4 separate regions of the Homo sapiens genome follow, and all the other regions are linked to region 4. Evidence: promoter capture Hi-C in 16 types of primary human blood cells and fetal thymus (Javierre and others, 2016). All regions are on one chromosome and are shown on one strand. Each heading gives the region's core, a stretch centred on a gene start or on the middle of the fragment in contact. The rest is flanking DNA. Distances are from core to core; before and after follow the strand shown. Region 1 holds the start of GCNA (germ cell nuclear acidic peptidase). Region 2 overlaps TAF1 (TATA-box binding protein associated factor 1). Region 3 overlaps OGT (O-linked N-acetylglucosamine (GlcNAc) transferase). Region 4 holds the start of MED12 (mediator complex subunit 12).

The links. The method cuts DNA at HindIII sites, captures the fragments that hold promoters and counts their contacts. A CHiCAGO score of 5 or more calls a contact.
Region 1: the fragment with the promoter of GCNA here is called in contact with the fragment with the promoter of MED12 in region 4 in 4 of 17 cell types (naive CD8 T cells, total B cells, naive CD4 T cells and 1 more); the score reaches 6.6 in naive CD8 T cells.
Region 2: a fragment that was not itself captured here is called in contact with the fragment with the promoter of MED12 in region 4 in 1 of 17 cell types (non-activated CD4 T cells); the score reaches 5.9 in non-activated CD4 T cells.
Region 3: a contact is called between a fragment that was not itself captured here and the fragment with the promoter of MED12 in region 4, in 1 of 17 cell types (non-activated CD4 T cells). The highest score is 8.5, in non-activated CD4 T cells.

Annotation. Positions count from the first base shown.
Region 1 is chrX:71,577,154-71,579,853 of GRCh38, reverse strand. GCNA (germ cell nuclear acidic peptidase) reads right to left here and starts at 1,417. Exons shown (of 13, transcript NM_052957.5): 1 at 1,332-1,417. RefSeq lists an enhancer at 569-1,210. The HindIII fragment of the contact is 6,206 bases long and covers 1-2,700 here.
Region 2 is chrX:71,390,833-71,393,532 of GRCh38, reverse strand. TAF1 (TATA-box binding protein associated factor 1) reads right to left here. Exons shown (of 38, transcript NM_004606.5): 19 at 815-964; 20 at 539-658; 21 at 57-232. Among named protein-coding and RNA genes, the nearest start is that of TAF1, 26 kb to the right of the region's middle. The HindIII fragment of the contact is 3,497 bases long and covers 1-2,700 here.
Region 3 is chrX:71,549,601-71,552,300 of GRCh38, reverse strand. All of the region lies in intron 5 of OGT (O-linked N-acetylglucosamine (GlcNAc) transferase), which reads right to left. Among named protein-coding and RNA genes, the nearest start is that of OGT, 18 kb to the right of the region's middle. The HindIII fragment of the contact is 544 bases long and covers 1,035-1,578 here.
Region 4 is chrX:71,117,192-71,119,891 of GRCh38, reverse strand. MED12 (mediator complex subunit 12) reads right to left here and starts at 1,296. Exons shown (of 45, transcript NM_005120.3): 1 at 1,039-1,296; 2 at 415-519; 3 at 15-206. The coding sequence starts at 1,137. The HindIII fragment of the contact is 19,646 bases long and covers 1-2,700 here.

The DNA of each region.
Region 1 (2,700 bases), core at 168-2,667, 460 kb before region 4:
GGACCCTACCCCCACCATTCTCACCTCAGTCTTCCACCAATCAGGCCTCAACCCCACCACCCTTCCCCCACACTCGCACCTCCAACCACCTCCAGCCACCTTCAACTGCTCCCAACCGGTTTTCCAAGCAGGCTTCCACTCCCCCACACTTCTATCCAACTTCTGCCCTACCCCACTCCTGTCTCCCACCACCACTCAGTCCTCAGCCAAAGAGACCTCAACCCCCACACACACACCCCTACCCACAACCACTAGCTCCCACCTCCCCCCAATGCTGCAACGGGCACCCCCACTTCTCCCCACAGCCACTGGCACCCCCACCTCCAATGCCACCACCAGCATCCTCACTTCTCCCCACGCCCACCAGCACCACCACGTGCTCCTAGGCCACTTCCACCACCACCAAGTGTTCCTACGCCGCCACCAGAACCCCCCACTTCCCTCAACGCCCCCATTGGCACCCCCACCTTCAATGCGGCCACCGGCGCCTCCACTTCTCCCCACACCGCCAGCGCTACTATGTGCTCCTATGCCACCAACGCCACCAAGTACTCCTAGGCCGCAACTGGCACCCCCACCTCCCCCCACGCTGCCACTGGCATCCCTACTTCTCCCCACCCGCCACTAGGGACACCACCTGTTCCTACACCACCACTGGGGCCCCCACCTCCCCCCAGTGCCGCAACCAGCGCCCTCACTTCTCCCCGCGCCGCCACCGGCGCCACGTATTCCTACATAGCCACTGGCGCCACCACACGCTCCTACGCCACCACCAGCGCTCCCACTTCCCCCAAGGCCGCCAATGGTGCCCCTACTTCTCCCCACACCGTCACTGGTGCTACCACATGCTCCTACACCACCACCAGCACCCCCACTTCCCCGACACTGCCACAGGCACCCCCACTTCCCCCAACGCCGCCACTGGTGCCCCTACTTCTCTCCACCCGCCACTGGCACCAACACCTCCTTCTACGCCACCACCAGGCCCCCCACTATCTGCAATGACGCCACCAGCGCCCCTTCTCCCCACGCCGCCACTGGCACTACCAGCTGCTCCTACGCCGCCACCGGCGCCCCCACCCCTCCCAATGCCGCCACTGGCGCCACCATATGTTTCCTACACCACCATGGGCGCCCCCACCTCCCCCAATGCTACCACTGGCGCCTCCACTTCTCCCCTCGCTGCCACTTCCTCTACTCCCACCTCAGGCCTACACGGGCAACCAGAGTCCAAGGTATACAGTGGTCCTGATTTTAATTAAGTCACTCAATTAGGATTAACCTCTGGACCACTTCAGCACCCATCTCAGTCCGACCAGCCGGTCACCTACCTGGTGTTGCAGCCTCTGGCGTGGCCGGCAGCAGCTCACCTCCAACTGCCCGTGGAGTGTGTGCAAAGATCCGGAGCAACTGCGATGAACAACGCCAGGCGCAGGCCCCTTTATAGTGCCCGGACCTAGGGGGCGGTAGCAGTAATTCACGTGTGCTCGCCCGCGCTCCCCTGTACCCACCTATCACAGTGGTCACAAGACAAATTTGAACTTCGCGCCTGTGAACTTGGCGCCTAGCTGTAACGCTTCCGGGATCAGGTCTGTCGCTTTCCACTCCCACGGATGTTGCTTATTTGTCCCAAAACCGCCATTTCAATACTAGAGCGTGGGCACCCGAGGCCAATTCTGCGATTAAAAGTCCCTAACAACTTTCTGATAAAGAGAAACCATGTGAAATCGTTCATAACAAACTTTTATCCTGCGAGAACTTGGATAAGCGAGCCTTGTTCCTTACTTGAATTGTCCAGACCTCTAAGTCCGTTATTGCAACCACTGGGAAAGGGCGCGGGGGGAGGGGCGGGGGCACGAGAACTGGAGCGAAGGCGCGGGAGCAGGGGCGTGGACGGGAACACCGAGGGGAGGGCGGGGCGCGGGGGGACGCGGGAGCGCAGGGGGGCGGGGGTTGCAGGGAAGGCCATCTAGACCCCTAGATAAGAGCAAGGCAGCAACTCAACAGCGCCTGGCAACGGCGAACTATGATGTTTACTTCCAGAACCCTCCAAACCCTGGAGATAAAAAAAGGTTACTTGAGGCTTTTTGGCACTCACTCCATACACACCAAGAAAAACAAACGGGGAAAACAGCGCTTTCTAGATTGTGCCAGTTTCTCCAGCGAGCATCTATATATTTCGTAATGTATGCCTTTGGGTAACAGAACACACATAAAATGTCCCTGCGTTTGATACTATTTTGTGCTAAGCATTATTCCAAGTGTCTTACGACTTAATTCATACAACACTTTAAAAAGTAGGCAACTGTTAGCACTCTCATTTTAGAGATCACACAGCTAGAAAGTGGCAGAGCTGGCCGGGCACAGTGGCTCACGCCTGTAACCCCAGCACTTTGGGAGGCTGAGGCGGGTGGATCACGAAGTCAGGAGCTTGAGACCAGCCTGGTCAACATGGTGAAACCCCGTCTCTACTAAAGATAAAAAAAAAAAAATAGCCGCGTGTGGTGGCCCGCGCCTGTAATCCCAGCTACTCGGGAGGCTGAGGCAGGAGAATCGCTGGAACCTGGGAGGCGGAGGTTGCAGTGAGCCGAGATCGTGCCATTGCACTCCAGCATGGGGACAGGGCGAGACTCCATCTCAAAAAAAAAAAAAAAAGTGGCAGAGCTGAGATTCAAACTCCAACTCTAGTTCCAAAACCTG
Region 2 (2,700 bases), core at 100-2,599, 270 kb before region 4:
CCTGGAACTCCTCCCCCTTTCCAGCTTGGATTTTCTGCAGCACTAAAACGACCCACTTGTTCTGTAGGTCAAAGATGCGCTGACATTCCTCTTTGTAACGCTCTTGATGCTCAGCCACAGAAAACCTTGATCCACGGGCAAATTTACTCATGGGCCCCTCTCCAGAACGAGCCTGTTCTGTTGACATTGTGCGCACCACATCAATCACTTCCCAGCGGGACAACTTTTTAATCTACGAGACAAATAGCCACACACAAATATAAATATACACACACACACACACACACACACACACACACACACACACAAATCATTCAGGGATTTCAAAGGACAAGCCAATGTACACAGTTAGACCAAAAAAGAAAAATCACCCCAAAGCAGATTACATAGAAAGATAACTCCTAAAACAATATCTAAGACTTAGCTTACTATACCCTACAATAAAGTTCCCCAGATAGTTCTTTACATCTGCCTCCTAGCAATTCCAACTCTATACAAAGCCCCTAGTATACTCTAAATTTTCCACTTCCACACTCACCTCTTCCTCAGGCACACCAAATTTACGTAGAAGTTGCTTGGCATTTTTCAGGGAAAGGCGACGAAGGTCTGCATCTGTTCCTGTCACTGTCTTCTTCACTGGCTGCGGTTCTTTATCATCCTACCTCAAACAAAAAAAAGTGAGACTCCTAAAAACCTGAATTCCTTTTAAGTAGGCATCTAAGTCATTCTGCTACCTTAACTACATTCCAAGTCCTCCACTCACCCATTTCTTTCTCCCTTGACTTTTTCATTCTAGAAATAAACACAATCTCACCTTCTGCTGTGTTGGTTTGTTTGGAATCTTCACATAGGAGAATCCTTCACCACACCCCGTGGGATCTGCCACCCCAGTCACCTCTAGCAGACACTTGCCCTTCATGGCAGCAATGAAGGCCCTTGTGGTGTTCCAAGGGGCAGTGCGAACCTGAGATAAAGAAAAAGATTCTCAGGGCAGTGGGAAACATTTGTTCTATGTCTAGCCAATATCTACAAGAGTAGAATAATTACAAACTATTTTCATGTTCTTTTTTTCTAATTTTTAATTTCTGTGGGTTCATGCTCTCTTAAACTGTCCACAAAAATCAACAGTTAAATATAGCTACCTAGTACTCAGTTCTCTTCTATCCTATGGTACAATACTTACAACATGATATTAAATAGAGGTCAAGAGCTCAGGCAGGATAAGGAGAAAAATAAAGAACAGTGGTATCCCTTCAGCCCCTTATCCCTTGGGCTTCAATAAACATTCTTAAGGACAGTGTTTCCCTCACCCTCATGATGCTCAAAATTAGACTAATGACTACATTTGATTGTCCAATTGCTCAAACAGCTGTTTTAGAATGAAACCTATTTTCTCGAAATACTTGACATGCTTGCTTTCAAAGCATTGGCCCCTTTTCCAGTGACACTAAACCAAAGTCCATTCTATTTCTGCCACTGGTTTGGTCAAAAAGGTCTGTCCTCTCCTGGGACCCTGAATAGTGTTTACCAACCCCTGCAAGATTCTTAAAGAATTAAGCCAAGGGGTGAATGTGCCTGCCCACACAGACCAGTCAGGAGTACATGAGGCCAGGTGTGGTGACTCACACCTGTAATCCCAACACTCTGGGAGGCTGAGGCGGGCAGATCTCTTGAGGCCAGGAGTTCAAGACCAGCCTGGCCAACATGGTGAAACCCCATCTCTACTAAAAGTACAAAAATTAGCCAGGCGTGGTGGCGCACACCTATAGTCCCAGCTACTCAGAAGGCTGAGGCACGAGAATGGCTTGAACCCAGCAGGCAGAGGTTGCAGTCAGCAGACTGCACCACTGCACTCCAGCCTGGGAGACAGAGTGAGACTCTGTCTCAAAAAAAAAAAAAAAAAGAGTATATATGATTAGCAAGAAAATGGCCATTCTCTAAGGTTCAATCTGGAAAGCCATTCAACAGAATTCTTTTTTTATTTTTAATTTAAAAAAAATTGTTTTTCTTTTTTAGAGACAGGGTCTCACTATGTTGGCCAGGTTGGTCTTGAACCCTTGGCCTCAAGTAACCCTCCCACCTTGGCCTCCCCAAATGCTATGATTACAGGCCTGAGCCACTGCGCCTGGCCTCAAAAGAATTCTTAATTTCTGAAATTCTTAGATATCCACTCATTTTTCATTCCAACCTCAAGAGAGTAGTACAACGATTCTTTACTCACTCTGTGTGGCCTCATTTTCTGCTTCATTTTATAATCACTTAATTCATTTAACAAATATTTATTGAATACCAACTACACACTACTCCTCCATACTACTTTTTCATGAACCTCAAGTTAGTGAGGGAAAAACAGCCAACCAAGTTCAGTACTATGTGATCAGTGCCACGGGAAGAAAGTAGAGGCCAGGCACAGTGGTTCATGCCTATCATCCCAACACTTTAGAAGGCCAAGGCAGGACGATCGTTTGAGCCTAGGAGTTCAAAATCAGCCTGGGCAACACAGTAAGATCCCATTTCTTTCTTTCTTTTTTTTTTTTGAGATGGAGATTCGTTCTTTTAGTCCAGGCTGGACTACAATGGCGTGGTCTCAGCTCCCGGCAACCTCCACCTCCCAGGTTCAAGTGATTCTCCTGCCTCAGCCTCCCAAGTAGCTGGGATTACAGGCGCACGCCACCACGCCCGGCTCATTTTGTATTTTTA
Region 3 (2,700 bases), core at 57-2,556, 430 kb before region 4:
TTAATCCTTTAAAAGTTTGTGTGTTTATTTATTTATTTTTGGAGACGGAGTGTCACTCATTATTTATTTTTGGAGACGGAGTGTCACTCACTCTGTCGCCCAGGCTGGAGTGCAGTGGCACGATCTTGGCTCACCGCAACCTCCTCCTCCTCCCGGGTTCAGGCAATTCTCCTGCCTCAGCCTCCTAAGTAGCTGGGATTACAGGCACACGCCACCGCACCGCACCCAGCTGTTTTTTTTTTCTTTTGTATTTTGAGTAGAGATGGGGTTGCACCATGTTGGCCAGGCTGGTCTCGAACTCCTGACCTCAAGTGATCCACTCGCCTCAGCCTCCCAAAGTGCTGAGATTACAGGGGTGAGCTACCGCACCCGGCCTAAAAGTTTAATTTAAATCTCCATTTTTATTACAATTTGTTGAAGTAAGAAGGTCAGCTTCCCAAAGTTTGAATTTTGCTGACTGCATCCCTATGGTGTCCTTTAACATGTTTCCTGTCCCGTGTATATCTCCTGTAAATTGGTAGGTAGAACCAGAAGCTTAATTAGGTTTGTGTTCTTTTCTCTTTGTGCAAGACTACTTCACTGGTGAAATTGTTTACCACAAGGTACTTAATACCTGATTGTATCTCGTTTTTGTCACTGATAAATGCTTTAACTTTTTTTTTATTTTTTGAGATGGAGTCTTGCTCTGTCGCCCAGGCTGGAATGCAATGGTGCAATCTCAGCTCACTGCAACCTCCACCTCCCAGGTTCAAGAGATTCTCCTGCCTCCGCCTCCTGAGTAGCTGGGATTACAGGCTCCTGCTACCATGCCTGGCTAATTTTTGTATTTTTAGTAGAGATGGGGTTTTGCCATGTTGGCCAGGCTGGTCTCGAACTCCTGACCTCAGGTGATCCACCTGCCATGGCCTCCCGAAGTGCTGGGATTACAGGCGTGAGCCACCAAGCCCGGCCTAATAAATGCTTTCACTATTAATGGTGATATTCTATCATTCCTTCTTCACTTATTAGCTAGAATGCTTTTATAAAGAAAAGCTTCCCCCATCAACTATTGGGTTACTCTATGGTCTAGTTCATACAGGAGAGGGAAGACATATGCTTTATTCTTTTAATTTTTAAATTTAAAGTTGATATATAATTGTGTATATTTATGGCATACAATGTGATGGTTTGATCCACGTATACATTTTAGAAAGAGTCAACCAAGCTAATTAACATAGCCATCACCTCACTAACTTATTTTTTTGTGGTTGAGGACATTAAAAACCTATTCTTTTTGCAATTTTGAAATATACATTATTAACAACTGTGGTCACCATGCAGTACTACAGATCACTAAAACTTATTCCTCCAGTCTAACTGAAACTTTGATCAATATCTCCCTTTTCCCCATCCCTCCTCCACCCCCCCAAGCCTCACCACCCTTCTACTCTCTGTTTCTATGAAATCAACTTTTTTAGATTCCACAAATAGGTGACATAATACAGTATCTACTTTCTGTGCCTGGTTTATTTCACTTAGCATAAAGCACAGATAACAAAAGCAAAAATATGCAATGAGATTGCATCAAACTAAAAAGCTTCTGCACAGTAAAGGAAACAATTACACAGAGTGAATAGGCAACCCCGGATTAGGAGAAAGCATTTGCAAACTATACAACTGATAAAGGGTTAAGAAGCTCAACTCAGTAGCAAATACGCCCATTAAAATACGGGCAAAGGATCTAAACAGACATTTCTCAAAAGAAGAGGTACAGGCCAGACACAGTGGCTCATGTCTGTAATCCTATCACTTGGGGAGACCAAGGTGGGAGGATCACTTGAGCCCAGGAGTTCGAGGTTGCAGTGAGCTATTATGGCGCCACTGCACTCCAGCCTGGGCAACAGAGCAGGACCTCATCTCAAAAAAACAAAACAAAACAAAACAAAAAAAACAAATGGCAAGCAGATATATAAAAAATATGCTCAACATCACTAATCATCAAGGAAATGCAAAATAAAACCATGAGTTAGCATCTCACACTTGTTAGTATAGCTATCATCAAAAGGACGAATAATAACAAGTGTTAGTGAGGATGTAAAGAAAGGGAAGCCTTGTAACTGATGGGGGAAGTATAAATTGGCACAGCCATTTTGGGAACTAGTATAGAGGTTCCTCAAAAACTTTATTCTTCTCTTTTTAACCAGTTTTCCAAATTAATTGTTCCTTGTAAGTCTTCCAAAGATGACCAATGAATTTTTTAGCATAATTATAAGCTCATAGATTTAAACATACTTGATAAGTTTTAGTATATTTCAGTTATTATTCCTATTGATGCTCAAGTCTGCATCTTTAGCCAGTGGGAGCCTCCTCAAGTTGCTTCCTGAGTCCTTTTGATGCAAAGTAATATGTCAAAGCTTCCTTGCTTTCTGGTATGACAAGACATTCCAAAAATTTTTTTTAAATTCCTGCCCCAGACCTGGAATCTGCCTTTTCACCAAGAAGCCCTGCTTCTTTAAAGCCCATTTATAAAAATCATTTTTAATTACTAAAGTACATTTTTTTTGAGACAGGGTCTCACACCATCACCCAGGCTGGAGTGCAGTTGCATGATCACAGCTCACTGCAGACTCAAACTCCCATCTCAGCCTCCCCAGTAGCTGTGTGTGTGTCACCACGCATAGCTACTTTTTGTATTTTTTGTAGAGACAGGGTCTTACTATG
Region 4 (2,700 bases), core at 47-2,546:
AAACAGTACCTTACCTTTTTGGCTAGTTGCGTGAGTGGCTTGGTGCCAGCCAAGTCAGTGAACCAAGTGTTAATGGCACTCTGGGATCGTGCAGTCACCAGCCAGAAGTTATCCTTCTGGTTCACTTGGGGCTTCCTGCGACCAGTGTCAGGAAGGGTATTACAACGTAATTTCTCTGCAATAATGCTGCTGAAGTTGGAACTGATCTGAGGGAAGAAAAGTGTACCTCAGGGTGGGAAGAAGGGGCAGACAGGTGGTCCTGCCTTTTGCTGGGCAAATGCCAATGAGATAGTATTAGGTCATGAAGGCAAACTCAGCCACTTAGGTTGTCCCTATAAGTCTTCCCAACCCAGGGCCTTTGCTCCTTCTTAGATTCTTCCAGCCTTTTCCTTCAGCCTGGCAGAGTTGTCTCACCTTGGCAGGATTGAAGCTGACGTTCTTGGCACTGCCATGCTCATCCCCAGAGACAGCAGGCTGGTTATTGAAACCTTGTTTTACATTCAAGGCCGTCAGTTCATCCTGAGGCAGGAAAGCGGCGTTTAGTTGTTTTTTCCTTAGGGGAAGGGGGAAGGGGTGGGAGAGTAGGGCAGGAGAAAAGAAGGAACAAGGTGAAAGGGCAGGAGGAGGGTTCCGTGTAGAACAGATCGTTACTTAAAGCTGGGCCCTTACGTTCACTTGGACCCCACCCTCACTCCCATGGTCACTAGGATTCCCAGCCACCCAGCGCGCCCTCAAACATCACTCTTCTCTTGCGAACAGCCGAGCAGCCGTACCCCACCAAGCTGTCTCAGACAACTTTCTGAGGTGTGTGTGGAGGAGGGCGCCTCTGGTGCGGCCCCTACACCACCCCCTATTCATACCTTGGAACCCCCCACCGCCCCCCGTCCTGCCCTCCCACGCCAGCCCACTTTACTCTTCCCCCTTTCGGGACTTTTGCTCTCACCGAACCGCCCCGCCCCCCATTCCCAGCCGTCAGTGCCTCCTCCTAGGCTGACCGCGTGCCCCCGGCCCCTCCAGAGCCCCGATTTTCGAACGCACCTCCTTCTGTTTGGGGTCCTGAGGGTAAACATCGGGAGGCCCCAGCCGCGGCCGCTTCAGGGGCCGGTGTTCGTAGCTCAAGATCCCGAAGGCCGCCATCTTGCCCAGCCCGTAGCGCCGGAGGCACCAGCAGGGCCAGGCTGACTGGGGGAACGGGAAGGGGGAGAGGGAGCCGAAAAGGGGGGCGGTGGTTGAGAGGACGGCGGCCGAGAGACAACAAGGGGGCACGTTAGAAACTCTCGACCATTGCCGGAAACTACCGAGGGAAGCCGAGGTACGCCGGGAACCATCGGACAATACCGACTGCAGAGGAGGTGGGGCCTGGCCCGGTGGGGGCGGAGCTCTGTGCCCCGGGAGTTTTTCGGCGGTGGCGGCAGCAAGTCGATTTCACTCAGCAAAAATCTATGAAACGTTCCGGAGGCGCAGAATGAGCTGGGGATGCAAACCAGGGAAGAAGGAGGCCTCTGTGGTGCTGAGTTCTGACTGGACTTCGGTTCCCATAGCCTAGCTCGGTTTTGGCCTAGAAAAGTCTTCAATAATATTTGCATTGGTTAGGAACTCCGTCTATTACAGATCAGTTCGTTTCTTAGTTCCGGCATCTGAAAAATAGGTGCGCTAACACCTCCTTCAAGGGGCTATTGTGAACATTAGAAACTATGTATGCATGAGAAAGAACCTATTAAACCCTGAAAGGCTGGCTCTAATCCCTCAAGGTCTACCATCGAGTTGTCTAACCTTTTCTTGTTTGTTTTTCTGCCCAAGGGTACCGCATACTAACGTTTTTGATTCACAAACCCTTAAAGGTGCTGATGAAAGCTATGGACCTTCTTCCCAGAAATAATAATAATAATAATAATAATATGCATATATTGACATGCAAAATGTTGCTTTAGATTCTTAGATCCCCTGAAGTTCATCCATGTATCCCCTAAGGGTCCATGAACTCCAGGTTAAGAACCCTTGGTCTAGCTAAAGAGGCACCTATTGTGTCAGATGCTTTTCAGACACTATCTCCTTTAATCTGCTCACAGCCTCATGAGTTAGGGATTATTATTGGCTCGATTTTGCGGATGGAGGAAGCTGGTTTTCAAAGTGTGAAAATTCACTTATCCAATATTATACAGCTACTGAGTAACAGAGCTGGCACTAAGATTCTGAATTCCAGAGCCAATATCCTATTGTCGTATTGCTATTTGTTTATTTTGAGGCAGGTTCTCCCTCTGTCGCCTAGGCTGGAGTGCAGTGGCGCTATCACGGCTCACTGCAGCATCAACCTTCTGGACTCCAGCGATCCTCCCGCCTCAGCCTCCCAGTAGCCTGGACTACAGGCGTGCGCCACTGTGCCGGCCTTGTATTGCCTTTTAGAGAAAAGACAGCCAGTGTGCTGTAACAAAAGTAACAAATAACAATAAACAAAAATAACACCAGTAACAAAAATAACAAAATGCTATTGAATCACAATGGAAAGAAGAAGTAATTCAAGGCGGGGAGTGGTGGCTCACGTCCGTAATCCCAGCACTTTGGGAGGCCAAGGCAGGGAATCACCTGAGGTCAGGAGTTCAAGACCAGCCTGGCCAACGTGGTGAAATCCCATCTCTACTAAAAATACAAAAATTAGCTTGTGTGGTGGCAGGCGCCTGTAATGCCAGCTGCTCAGGAGGC